3 separate regions of the Homo sapiens genome follow, and all the other regions are linked to region 3. The links are contacts of gene promoters, found by promoter capture Hi-C in human tissues and cell types (Jung and others, 2019). All regions are on one chromosome and are shown on one strand. Each heading gives the region's core, a stretch centred on a gene start or on the middle of the fragment in contact. The rest is flanking DNA. Distances are from core to core; before and after follow the strand shown.

What was found. The method cuts DNA at HindIII sites, captures the fragments that hold promoters and counts their contacts. A contact is called where the count stands out against the background at its distance.
Region 1: a fragment that was not itself captured here is called in contact with the fragment with the promoter of LRFN2 in region 3 in 1 of the 25 tissues and cell types used here (IMR-90 fibroblasts).
Region 2: a fragment that was not itself captured here is called in contact with the fragment with the promoter of LRFN2 in region 3 in 1 of the 25 tissues and cell types used here (H1 embryonic stem cells).

The regions. Positions count from the first base shown.
Region 1 is chr6:40,632,157-40,635,881 of GRCh38, reverse strand. No RefSeq gene overlaps it. Among named protein-coding and RNA genes, the nearest start is that of LRFN2, 47 kb to the right of the region's middle. The HindIII fragment of the contact is 6,259 bases long and covers 1-3,725 here.
Region 2 is chr6:40,522,669-40,526,078 of GRCh38, reverse strand. The region is part of intron 1 of LRFN2 (leucine rich repeat and fibronectin type III domain containing 2); the gene reads left to right. LOC105379699 (a long non-coding RNA gene) reads left to right here and starts at 2,114. Exons shown (of 3, transcript NR_182434.1): 1 at 2,114-2,247. LOC105375051 (a long non-coding RNA gene) reads right to left here and starts at 2,085. Exons shown (of 3, transcript XR_007059918.1): 1 at 1,732-2,085; 2 at 220-363. The HindIII fragment of the contact is 3,524 bases long and covers 1-3,139 here.
Region 3 is chr6:40,586,016-40,589,502 of GRCh38, reverse strand. It overlaps LRFN2 (leucine rich repeat and fibronectin type III domain containing 2), which reads left to right and starts at 2,139. Exons shown (of 3, transcript NM_020737.3): 1 at 2,139-2,562. RefSeq lists silencers at 1,707-1,776, 1,867-1,966. The HindIII fragment of the contact is 16,487 bases long and covers 1-3,487 here.

The DNA.
Region 1 (3,725 bases), core at 79-2,578, 47 kb before region 3:
TGCCTTCATGTGTAGTCACCAAAACATCCTGTGAAGAAGTATTCATTTTAGCCCTAAATTACAAATAAGGAAACTGAGGTTCAAAAAGAGAAGAACTTGCCTGAGGGCCCACCAGTGGTAAGTGACAGAGGTGGACCTAGAGGCCATACCTTTTGACTGCAAAGCAAAAGCTCTTTCCACCTCACAGAAGAGTTGGCAAGAGAAGATAAATAGGCGTGTCCAAGTTTCTAGGACCAGAAGGCCACTGCGGGTGAGCCTGGAATATAGTTCTGGGTTTCTGAGAGCCAGAGTCAACAGCTAGAAAGGAGAGAGAGGGAGGAGATGATTTCAGAGAGTGGAGGGGGAGGGATAGTCATGGGGAGATGGGCATGGTGAGTGCAGGGACTTCAGGGGCAAAGTTGTGCAGGCACAAGGGAGCTAGGGGCAAGTGATCGTGGAGAGATAAGGGACCAGAAAAGTGCCTTCATCTGTTTCCTCCATGGGTCTCTCCCTCTGTCCCTGCCTCCATTTCTTGGCTTTTGTCCCTGCCAGAGCTGATCCTTAGCAACCCCAACACCCTATGCATATACTTCATAAGACTTCCTGGGGAGCTGGGAGATGCGTAAGAGGCATGCGAAACCCTGGTCTAAAGTTCTGGCTCATCCTTTCTCCCATCACTCACTTCTGACCCTTTGCTCCAGGGAACACTAGCCCCAGTACAGTGAAACCACAGAGACATACTTTGCAGGGGTCACAGAATTATATGGGTCATCTGGTCAACCCTCAGGGCATAGTAGAGAAAACTGAGGCCCAGAGAGGGTAGGTGGCTTGCCCAAGGACACACATTGGTTAAGAATCGGGGCAGGGAGCTGGCATAAACCAGATTCTTCCCCCCACTGCAAAGGCTAAGAGGGAAGAGGGCACTGGAACCTCCAAGCCATAGCCAGCAGCAGGGCCACAGCCTGAGACACTGCCTGCCTCTTCCAGAGTTGATCCCAGACACTCTATCTTCCTCCCTGGTTTACTGTTTAGTGTTTTTAAAGCACATCTCAGTTCAGTGCTTTTGCTACAGTAAATATCTAATAATTGTTTCAGACTCTATTACTCACCTCACAAAATAGTGCCTGGAAATGGTGCTTATTTAGGTTTGTGCTGAAAGAGAAAAAACTCAGAAAAGGCCTGTCACATCTCCAGTGCTGTTGACTGTTTGTGGTCCAGAGATGGGGGTGGGGCGTGGCCCACTGCCAAGTACCTGGTGCTGGATACTCCTTCTAGCTGTGGGGATGCTGGTGCATTTATTAACCCTGCTAAGCCAGTCTCTGCCTCCACAAAAGCTGCTGAGACTGTGTGTGTGTGTGTGCGTGCGTGCATGTGTGTGTGTGTGTGAGAGAGAGAGAGAAGAGATTTACAGGCTGAAGTATATCTCTGAGTATTAATATAAAAATGTGTATGCCACATATCACCTTGTGTGTGCGTGTGGGCATACACACACATGTTCAAACATGAAAGTGAGTCCATACTTTTAATGTTCACAACCATCCCCAAAATTGTCCTCACAAAAGAGACCACAGCTGGAAGGCAGGGGTCATAATAATCACATCAACTTTACTATTTACATATGGTTCTCGCATCTGTGATTTCCACTGATCCTCACAACCTAGATATTTCCATGTTCATTATTCAGATGAGGACACTGAGGCCCAGGGAGCTCAGAGTATGGACTGAAGTTCAAACACTGGTAAGTGTTGGGGCTCAAGTTTTGACTCCATGAAAGTTCAGAGGCTAAGACACCAGATTCAGAAACACTAGTTTTGGTGTCAGATTTGAATCCTGACTTGAGCATTTACTGGCTGTAAGACTTTGGGCAGAGGATTGTCTTACTTAATCCATGGTTTTCTCATCTGCAAAATGGGTATTGCAGTGTCTATCTGCTTATCTCATAGGAAAGTTGTAAGATAAACAGTTGTTGTGAAAATGATGCAAGGTCACAGGTGTAAATGTTCTGCATAACACCTATCCTGTTACAGGCACCTGTACATATTTGCTGTTACTGTGATCAGCTAATCCAATTCCATGCCTCTGTCTACAGTCCCAGCTAAATGAGTGCCTATCTCCTTGCCCTGGGTCAACCATCGTGTCACTAGATCAGCAGTTTGAAAGCATTTTTGTCTCAGCGTCCCTTTACACTGTTAAATATTATCAAGGAGTCTAAAGAGCTTTCATTTATATGAGTTACACATACTTTCATCTTCAGAGAAATTTTAAAATATTTATATAAAATATTATTATTTTAAAATCATAAACCCTTTGCATAGTAATACAAATGATATTTTTATGAAAAAATAACTATTTTACAAAAAAAGTTTGTAAAAACAGTGGTCTTGTTTTCCATTGTTGGAACTCTCTTTCATGTCTGGTTTATCAGAAGACAGCTGGATTTGCATGCCTGTTTTTGCATTCAATCTGTTGTGATATCACATGTCATGCAGCCTCTGGAATATGCTACTGAATGCTTGTGAAAGAATCAGAGTGAAAAAGGCAAATGACACCTCGGTATTATTATAAAAATAATTTTGACTTCACTGGCCCCAGAGGCCCCTGGACCATGCTTTGAGAACCACTGCATGAGATGAAGACTAAACTCTCTTCCTGTCCAGGCAGGCTGTGCTTTTATGCATTTCTGTCACTATATCTGGAAAATTAAGATTGACTAAGACAAAAGCAAATAATATCCGTGTTAGGTTTCTCCATTGTAGGGCATTGACTTGTGAACCTGATATTGACAAACTAAGGTTGGCTACTTTTTACCAACTTCTTCACTTGTGTCCACCATTGGCCCTAGGCTGTTGACTGATTGATTTATATCATATGTGTGTCATTGAAGAGGCATTTGAATTTACTATCTGACATAAGAAGATTGAGTGATTGCAGGGCTGATTGCTGCAAAGCTTTAACAATCATCATTAATGACCCAGGTTCTTCTTTATTCTCTACAAGCTCATTATATCAGCTTTGTCTCTCACATGCTCAAGATGGCTGCAGCAGTTCCCACCACCATATACAGACACCACAACACCATCGTCAGATAAACCATCGTTCTTTTTGGTCTCTTTGTATTAATAGGAAACATTTTCCCAATGGGCTTTCCCTCAAATGCTATTGTCTAGAATAGAGTCTCCTGCTATATCAGTTTCCTGGGCTGCTGTACCAAAGCATCACAAACTGGGTGGCTTAGAACAGAAATGTATATTCTCACAGTTCTGGAGGCTTAAAGTCAAAAGCAAGGCTTCAGCAGGACCATGCTCTTCCTGAATATGTGGTAGAAGGGTCTTTTCTTGTCCCTTCCATCTTTGCAGCTCTGGTATTCCCTGGCTTGCGGCACGGTAACTCATCTTTCATGTCTTTTCACCTAGTCCTCCCTCTGCATGTGTCTGTGTCCAAACTTCCCTCTTTTTATAACGATACCAGTCACATTGCACTAGGGCCCTCCTTAATGACTTTGTCTTAACTTGACTACGTCTGTAAAGACCCTATTTCCAAATAAGGTAAAATTCACAGGTACTGGGGTTCATGATTTCAATATATCTTTTCTGGAGGGATGCGATTCAACCTCTAACCCCTGACTTTCCTTAAATTGGTAGCAAAGGAAATACAGTCATGGCAATTGGCTTCCAGGGGGTTTCAACCAAGGTGTATGTAGCAGCCTCACTGGGGAACATTTGCACATGTGGGGAGGAGCTTTTGGA
Region 2 (3,410 bases), core at 128-2,627, 63 kb after region 3:
CTGTGCCCTGCACATAGCCGAGAAAACACTACTGCTATTAAACCAGGAAAATCTTGAGAACAGGAACCTTTTCTCTCTCCCTCTTCCCAGCACCGATCTCGTGCCTTCGTGTTCAGTGTGTATTTGCTAAAGATGGTGACGTGTAGCTGGCCCTCTGAGGGGGGTTCATTTCAGCACAGAAATGGAAAGGGGAGAACTTGGGGGAAGACTGTGTCTTACGTGGTCTTGCGGGCAAAGTTCCAGGGCCAGAAAAAAGCAAGATTGTCCAGGTTGTAAGAGCCAGGGCTGGTGGTTGGAGGCCTGGCAGTGTGGGAGGGCTGGAGCAGCGAGGCTTCCTGGAGGAGGTGAGATGGGTCAACTGACCTAAGGGGAAAGTAAGAAGAAAGTATGGCAAGAGGAAGGAGGCACCACAGGAACTGAGGGGCAAAGGGTGGGCTCGGAGCATGTGTAAATCTCAGTTCTCTTTGCTCATAAAGTTCTGCAGATGCATATTTCTGTCAGTTTTATATTAACATTTACATAACAAGTAGATTGAGAGATTGCATTATTTACATATATATGGGAGGCCGGCTGGAACTGGGGATCCTCAAGTCTGTACATGACGTTTCATTGATTAATAAATTAGACACTTACAGATCAGGCACAAATCAAATCCATCCATTTCAGGCACCCATCAGGTGCAAATGAATGTAAATTGGCAGCTTCATTTGCATAGGGAAAGCAAACCATTTAGTTGTCATTTGTCATATGCACCCTTGAGAGGCTGTAATTTGCCTAGTAGAGCCAGCCTGCAGCAGGGCCGCCCTTGCTTTCTGGGGTGATTTCTGAGACTGCTCCAGCCAGGGGCGAGCAAGGGAGTGGCCTATGGAATGCTCCTGTGTCCTGCTCCCCTCCTGGAATCACCAGCATGGCCCCAGAGGGGGACAGCAGAGCCAGGGCCAGGTGGGGACACTGCCTTGTCACAGAATCAGAAATGAGGTGGCCAGGACTGGAAAATCTTCAAATCCATCTATGCCCACTTTGTATTTTATAGATGATGAGCTGAAGTTCAGAGAGGGGAAGTGACTCTCCTAAAGTCACACAGCAATGTAGCTTCAGTGCCAAGACTAGAACCGAGTTCTCCTTACTCCAAGCTCATTACCTTTGCCACGATGCCCTAGTGGTTCTTTCTAACAGGAAATAAAGGAGCAGGGTATGGAGCTTCTAGAATCACTGACCCCTGACTCAGTTTCCTGAGGCAAGGGTTGGAGGTCAGGGGGTGGAGGTTCAGGATAAGAATGAGTTGTTACTATTAGGATCCAGTTTTCTATAAGCTTCTGTCATGGCCTGATTTCAGGGCACCTGGAGGGCCCCTCTCTCCTGGGCATATTGACCACCATCCCTTTGGCCCCCCAAGTTCCTTTAAAGACAAAAAGAAAGGTCTTTTGTTATACATGAAAAGACACAGTTTAAAGGCTGGTTGGGTTGCCAACAGAGTGAGTGAGAAGGAGCGCCTCGGCCCCCTGCCTGCGTGAGCCAGGCCTCCAAGAAAGATGGAAAAGGTACAAAAATGGGACCCCAGAGGCCAAGCTTTATTTACTTCACAGCCCAAGAGAGACAAGAGATGAGGGCTGCAGGGGTGTGTGTGTGAGTGAGAGAGTGTGTGTGTGTCAGTATGTGTCAGTGTGTGTTAGAGGTGTGGCGGGTCGGGGGTGGGGAAGCAGTAAGTCAGGGTAGGGGGAGGTGGCTGACCTTCAACATCAGTTATCAGGGCAGGCAGGCATCCAGGTGATCTGTCCTGGTTATGGGACACCTGTTAGAGGCAGGGGGATAACTGAATTGACTCTGATGGGATTTTTCTACATTTTAAAATCTGCATGTGTTTTGTTTTGGTAGGTTAGGGCATCAAATTGGGATGTAGTTTTATTTTATTTTTAAAATCTCTCCCTCTGTGTGCTAAGAAAACAGGCTAATGGGGACATTATCCCCCAGTTTTCCTGTACCCCTGTTGTTCACGATGATGAGGAAAACCACATTTAATTTTCCTGCAACTGCTGGGAAGTGCCATGCAGCTTGGGCTGGCCTCCCCAGCCCCTCCCCCTGCCCTTCCCAGCCCCTCCCCCTGCCCTTCTATGCAGACACAGTTGGATGGCAATTGGAAGAGTACTGGCCCTGGGAAGACCCAGCTTTGAGCCTCAGGTTGTGTCTAATCATCTCTCTGTCCTTGGGCCAGTCAACTCACCTGTTCGTGCTGCCACAGAGACAGAGGTACAGGAGCTCAAGCACAGACCTGGGGTTGGCATTCCTGCTCTGCTGCAGGCTGGTTTGGCATGGCCACGGGACTGCCTTGTGGCCTTGGGTGTCTTAAACTTTCATAGCAAGCTTCATGTGTTCATGAGTAAACAGGGCCAATGATAGAACTTATTTCTGGTGCAATCATACATGCCCATGCATGCCAGTTCCTGCCCAGGGGCTGGCACAGAGTAGGTGCTCAGTGGATCAAAGGTATTATTCGTAGCCTCTGTGGTAAAGTCTTGTTATGCCTTCTTCATAGGGCTATCGGTAAAAAAAAAAAAAAAAAAAAAAAAAAAAAATCACCTAAAGATGCTTTAGGGTCCTAAAGCACTAAAAACCAACCAAACAAAAGAGAGTTGGCTTTATGATTAAATTATCCTTCACCACTTTGATCAATGGGGCTGAGGCCCATGGTTAGGGCATGGTGGGGCGTGGGTGGGGTGTGCCCCATTTTGCGTGAAACCCACTCTTGCTGAGTTAGGTGGGCGATGCATCAAGGGGCCTGTCTGCAAGAGCAAAACTGGAGGCCAGAGTCCTCCAGAAGGAGGACAAGGAGGGGTTCAAATTCACCATGCATTGAGCATTTATTGAGCACCTGCTGTGTGGCAAGGACCTTCACAGGTGTTATCTCATTTGGTCCAGTGACACATAGTCTGTTGTTCCTCTGGGCTTCAAATGGCCCCTTGAGCCCCTGAAGCAACAGGACCATGGTAACAAAAGGAAAGCTCACACCTACTGAGACACCTTGCGTCACAGTGCATGTTTGCACACTCAGTCTCCCTAACGCCATTCTGATGGCAGATTTGCTAACTTGGCCTAGTGCCTGTGTGTCTGTCCTTCCCTTATTACACACTCATCTTCCAGACAGGTGCATTCACATCCACTGCAGGCCCTGCACCTTACACTCAGCCCCAGTTTCTGCCCATCATACAGAGGACAGAGTCACAAACATGACACAGGCTCAGGGAAGGCATGAGTGGCTGTCATCCCTGATTCCCCCTTTTTTCTTTGAAACCCCTGTGGGGTCCCACATAGATGCAGCTGCCTGGTTCTAAGCTAGTGCTTTTCAAACTGTTGTGCTCCCAGGATTCCTCCATAGGAAGGGGCTCTGGAGTAGGGGGCAGGCCAGGGCCCTG
Region 3 (3,487 bases), core at 890-3,389:
CAGGTCTTGGCTCTTCATGGAATATCCATGTTTCTGACTTGAGAAAACTTCTTGATGGAGTATTGGGTTCACTCTAGAGCAGAGATTGATCCATCCTTCCTATATCCCTCATTCACATCATTCTAATGCTTTTCTGGTTTCTAAAAGCAGCTCCATTTCTACTCTGGTGCCAGCTTGGTCCTATCCCTGCCACTCCGTTCTGGTTGTCTCATGGGTGACTGAGGGTTAGGGGAGATAACCTAGCCCACTGCCCCCAACCCTTGGGAGAATTCAAAGGCTTGAGCCCAGGCTGTGGTTCTTCCTAAGCCTTTCTTCCTGGGAGCTCCCGCCAATAGTAGGCAAGCCCTCAGGTAAGCAAAGAGTAAGGCAGTTTCCCTGCTGTTCTCCCCTCCTTCTTCCCTTCCCCTTCCTCTTCCCTACTTGCCCTCCCCAGTTTCTACTCCACACCTCCTTTTACTCACCTCTTCCTTCCTCATTACTTTCCTTCTCATGACTCTTCCCTACCTCTATCCCTCACTCCCTGCTCCTGAGTTAGATCCCTTCTCTCCAAGGCCCACCCCATATACCTTGAGTTTCATCTTGGCCATGCCCCTCCCCCACCAGGCTTTCCAGAATTCCTGCAGGGAGAGGCTTGTCTTCAAGGATATGCAGCATGCCAGTTTGGCAGTTTCCCGGGGTGCACATGTGGAGGGTGCACACATGAGGACCAGCTGCCTCGGCTTCTGCAGTTATGCATGTGTGTAGAGAGGACACAGGGTCGTATGTTACAGATGTATCCAGCCGAGCCAATCCTGGGCTGCAGAGACACATCCACATGCAACATGTGCCTCCCTGTGGGTAACCGGGACAGGTGCACGGGATGTGTTAGCCACCAGGAGAGAAGAGAAGGACTGCAACATTGACATTCTTCCTGCCCCTGGATTTACCAGCTGGAGTACCAACAGGAATCTCAAAATTTCATTTCCTTTAGAAGGAAGGAAATGCCTCTTGGGGAGTCCAGTAAGGCAGAGGACGGTCCTACCTTTCTGGTAACTAGTTGTTTATAGTGAACCGAGAGGATAACCAAAGACGAGACCTTGGCCAGACCTGGGTGTTCTGACTGTGAGCTCACAGTCTGCTTTGAGTAGGGTCTCCGCTACCTACCACATGCCTTGGACAAGTCACTTTACTCTTTTGGGCCTCAGTTTCCTTATACATCAAATGAGGGTTGCTGAGAAGATCAAACAAGTGAAGAGTTGTAAAGATGCTGTGCAAACACTTGGCGCCACTGCACCCTTCACTGATTCTTGTAATAATCATGAAAAGTCAAAGTGCGTGTGTGTGCGTGCACGGGGCGCTCGTTATTCATAGGTCCCTTACCAGGATTCGAGAATCTGAACTGGGCCCCAGGACTGGGTGGGCGCGATCGCCCCAGCCCCCACTCCCAGCCTAGGGCCGGCGCGGTCGGGTTTTCCTCCAGCAGGCGGCGGGCTGACGGCTGCAGGGCGCGCTAGGCACGTGAGGTGGCAGCGCCGTCGCCAGCTGCAGAGGTGCAGCCCTGGCCGCCCGGCTCGCCTTCCGCAGGGGCTGCCCGTGCCGCTGGACCGCGGAGACCGCCCTCCCGGTTCCGGGGCTCGCGGCCTGCCCACCTCCCTCCGCGACTGCGGCCCCAGCCCACTCCCGCCCCACCGTGCGTCCCCGCGCCACCCCTGCCAGGACCGTGAATCCCTCTGGTTTCCGCGGCGGTGTTGGTCGTCTCGGAAGCGGGTGCGCTCGGCAGCGGGCAGGGCAGCGGGCGCAGAGGCTGCCTTCGGCTCCTGCAGCTCCGCGGTTCGCCACTGGGGGCTGCCGCGCCGGAGAGCTCGGCGGGGACGGTGCGCACGGCCGCCGGGTTCCTGGGCGCCTCTGGCCGCTGGGTTTTCTCCACTGCTGGCCCTGCGCTGTCTCCGCAGCCCGCCCGACTCCCTCCCAGATTGGAGCGTGTGATCCGTGTGTGTGTGTGTGTGCGTGTGTGTGTGTGTGTGTGTGTGGAGCGGAGAGAGAAACCGGGTACGCGCGTATGCGCGCGCGCGTGGGGGGCAGTGTGCATGCGGGGAGTACGGGGGAGTGTGTTTGTGTGTGCGTGTGGGTGTGAGTGCCTGGCTCCCTCTCGCTGAGACACACATACACTCACACATACACAACCCGGCAGGCTCGTCTGAACTTGAAGACACCCCACATTCCAAGATGCCCGAGGTTCCTGGGAATGCCTGGGGTTCTTCGATCCGGAAAATCCTACCGGCATCCTCCTAGGGAGGGATTATTATTATTATTTTTCTTTAATCTGGAAGAGAAGAGAACAAGTTGTGCTTTTCCCCCCTTCTTCTTGCTAAATGCCATGGATATAACTGAATAAGCGGCTCAGGGCTTTCCCCGCGTGGACGTCCGAGGCCACCATCTGCCTGCATTCGCCGGAGCCGCCGGAGGGTTTAGCTCGAGTCTGTCTCGGGCGGGGAAGGATGCGTGGCCGAGCCGGGGAGCCCGGGCGCCCCGCGGAGCCGGCCTCGGTGCCACCCAGCCGGGGGTAGATGCTGCCTCGCCCAGGTGAGTGGTCGCCGGCGCTGCGTCTTTGCGATCCCGGGTGTCCGCGGGAGCTCGGCGCGGGGCTGAACGCACCCGAGGGAACCGGGAACTTTGCATCCCTTTCTTTTTCTCTTGAAGACTCCCCGCATCCTAGGTGCTCATGCGGACACCCCCTTCTCTTTTCGCCCATCCTTATCGCGAGAGATTTCCTTTCCTTTCTTTAGTCTTTATTTCCTACAGTGGGGGTGAAACTCTGGCGGGGAGCGGGGAGAGCCGGGTCCATGTGAGACTGGAGAGCCGGATGGAGAGACGGGGAGCCACGGGTGGATGGAACCGTTGAAAACAGCAGGAGAACTTTGCCGCCAGACCACTCTGTTGCATCTCCGCACATGCAAGGCCTGGCTAGAGCCATTGCTGGGGGCTAGGTGGGGGCGCCGGGGACTCCCTGAGCTCTGTGGACTGGGTGGGGTGGGGTAAAGCCAAGTGCGGAAGGGTTGATGCAGAGCGGATGGGAGGAAGGAAGGCATGGTTGCAGTTTGTGGGGGCAGGTAGGGCAGGTTCAGGGACCCTATGCTGGCCTCAGGCAGAAAGCAGATCAGGGGGATTGTGTGTGTGTGCAGCTTGGGGCATCAGAATGGCATGATGAAGCAATATGGAAAGTGGCATTAGCCATGCCTGGGTTCCTAGGTCTCTGTCTCCCACCCAGCCCTGCCCTGGTTCTAAGGTTGGCCTGGGCAGGGAGGAGGGAGAGCAGTAGACCGTTCCGAGGTGGACAGTGCCTTACTTTGCACAGACCTTCTGAGGGAGGTGTCCTACTCGTCTTCCCATCAGCCCGGTACAAAGGACAGAGACAGAGAGTTCTAGGGAGATAGAGCCTCTGAAAACCAGAGCAGGAGGGAGAAGAGAGCCTGAGTGGAGACCGCAGAGGGACTGAGCCAGACTGTTG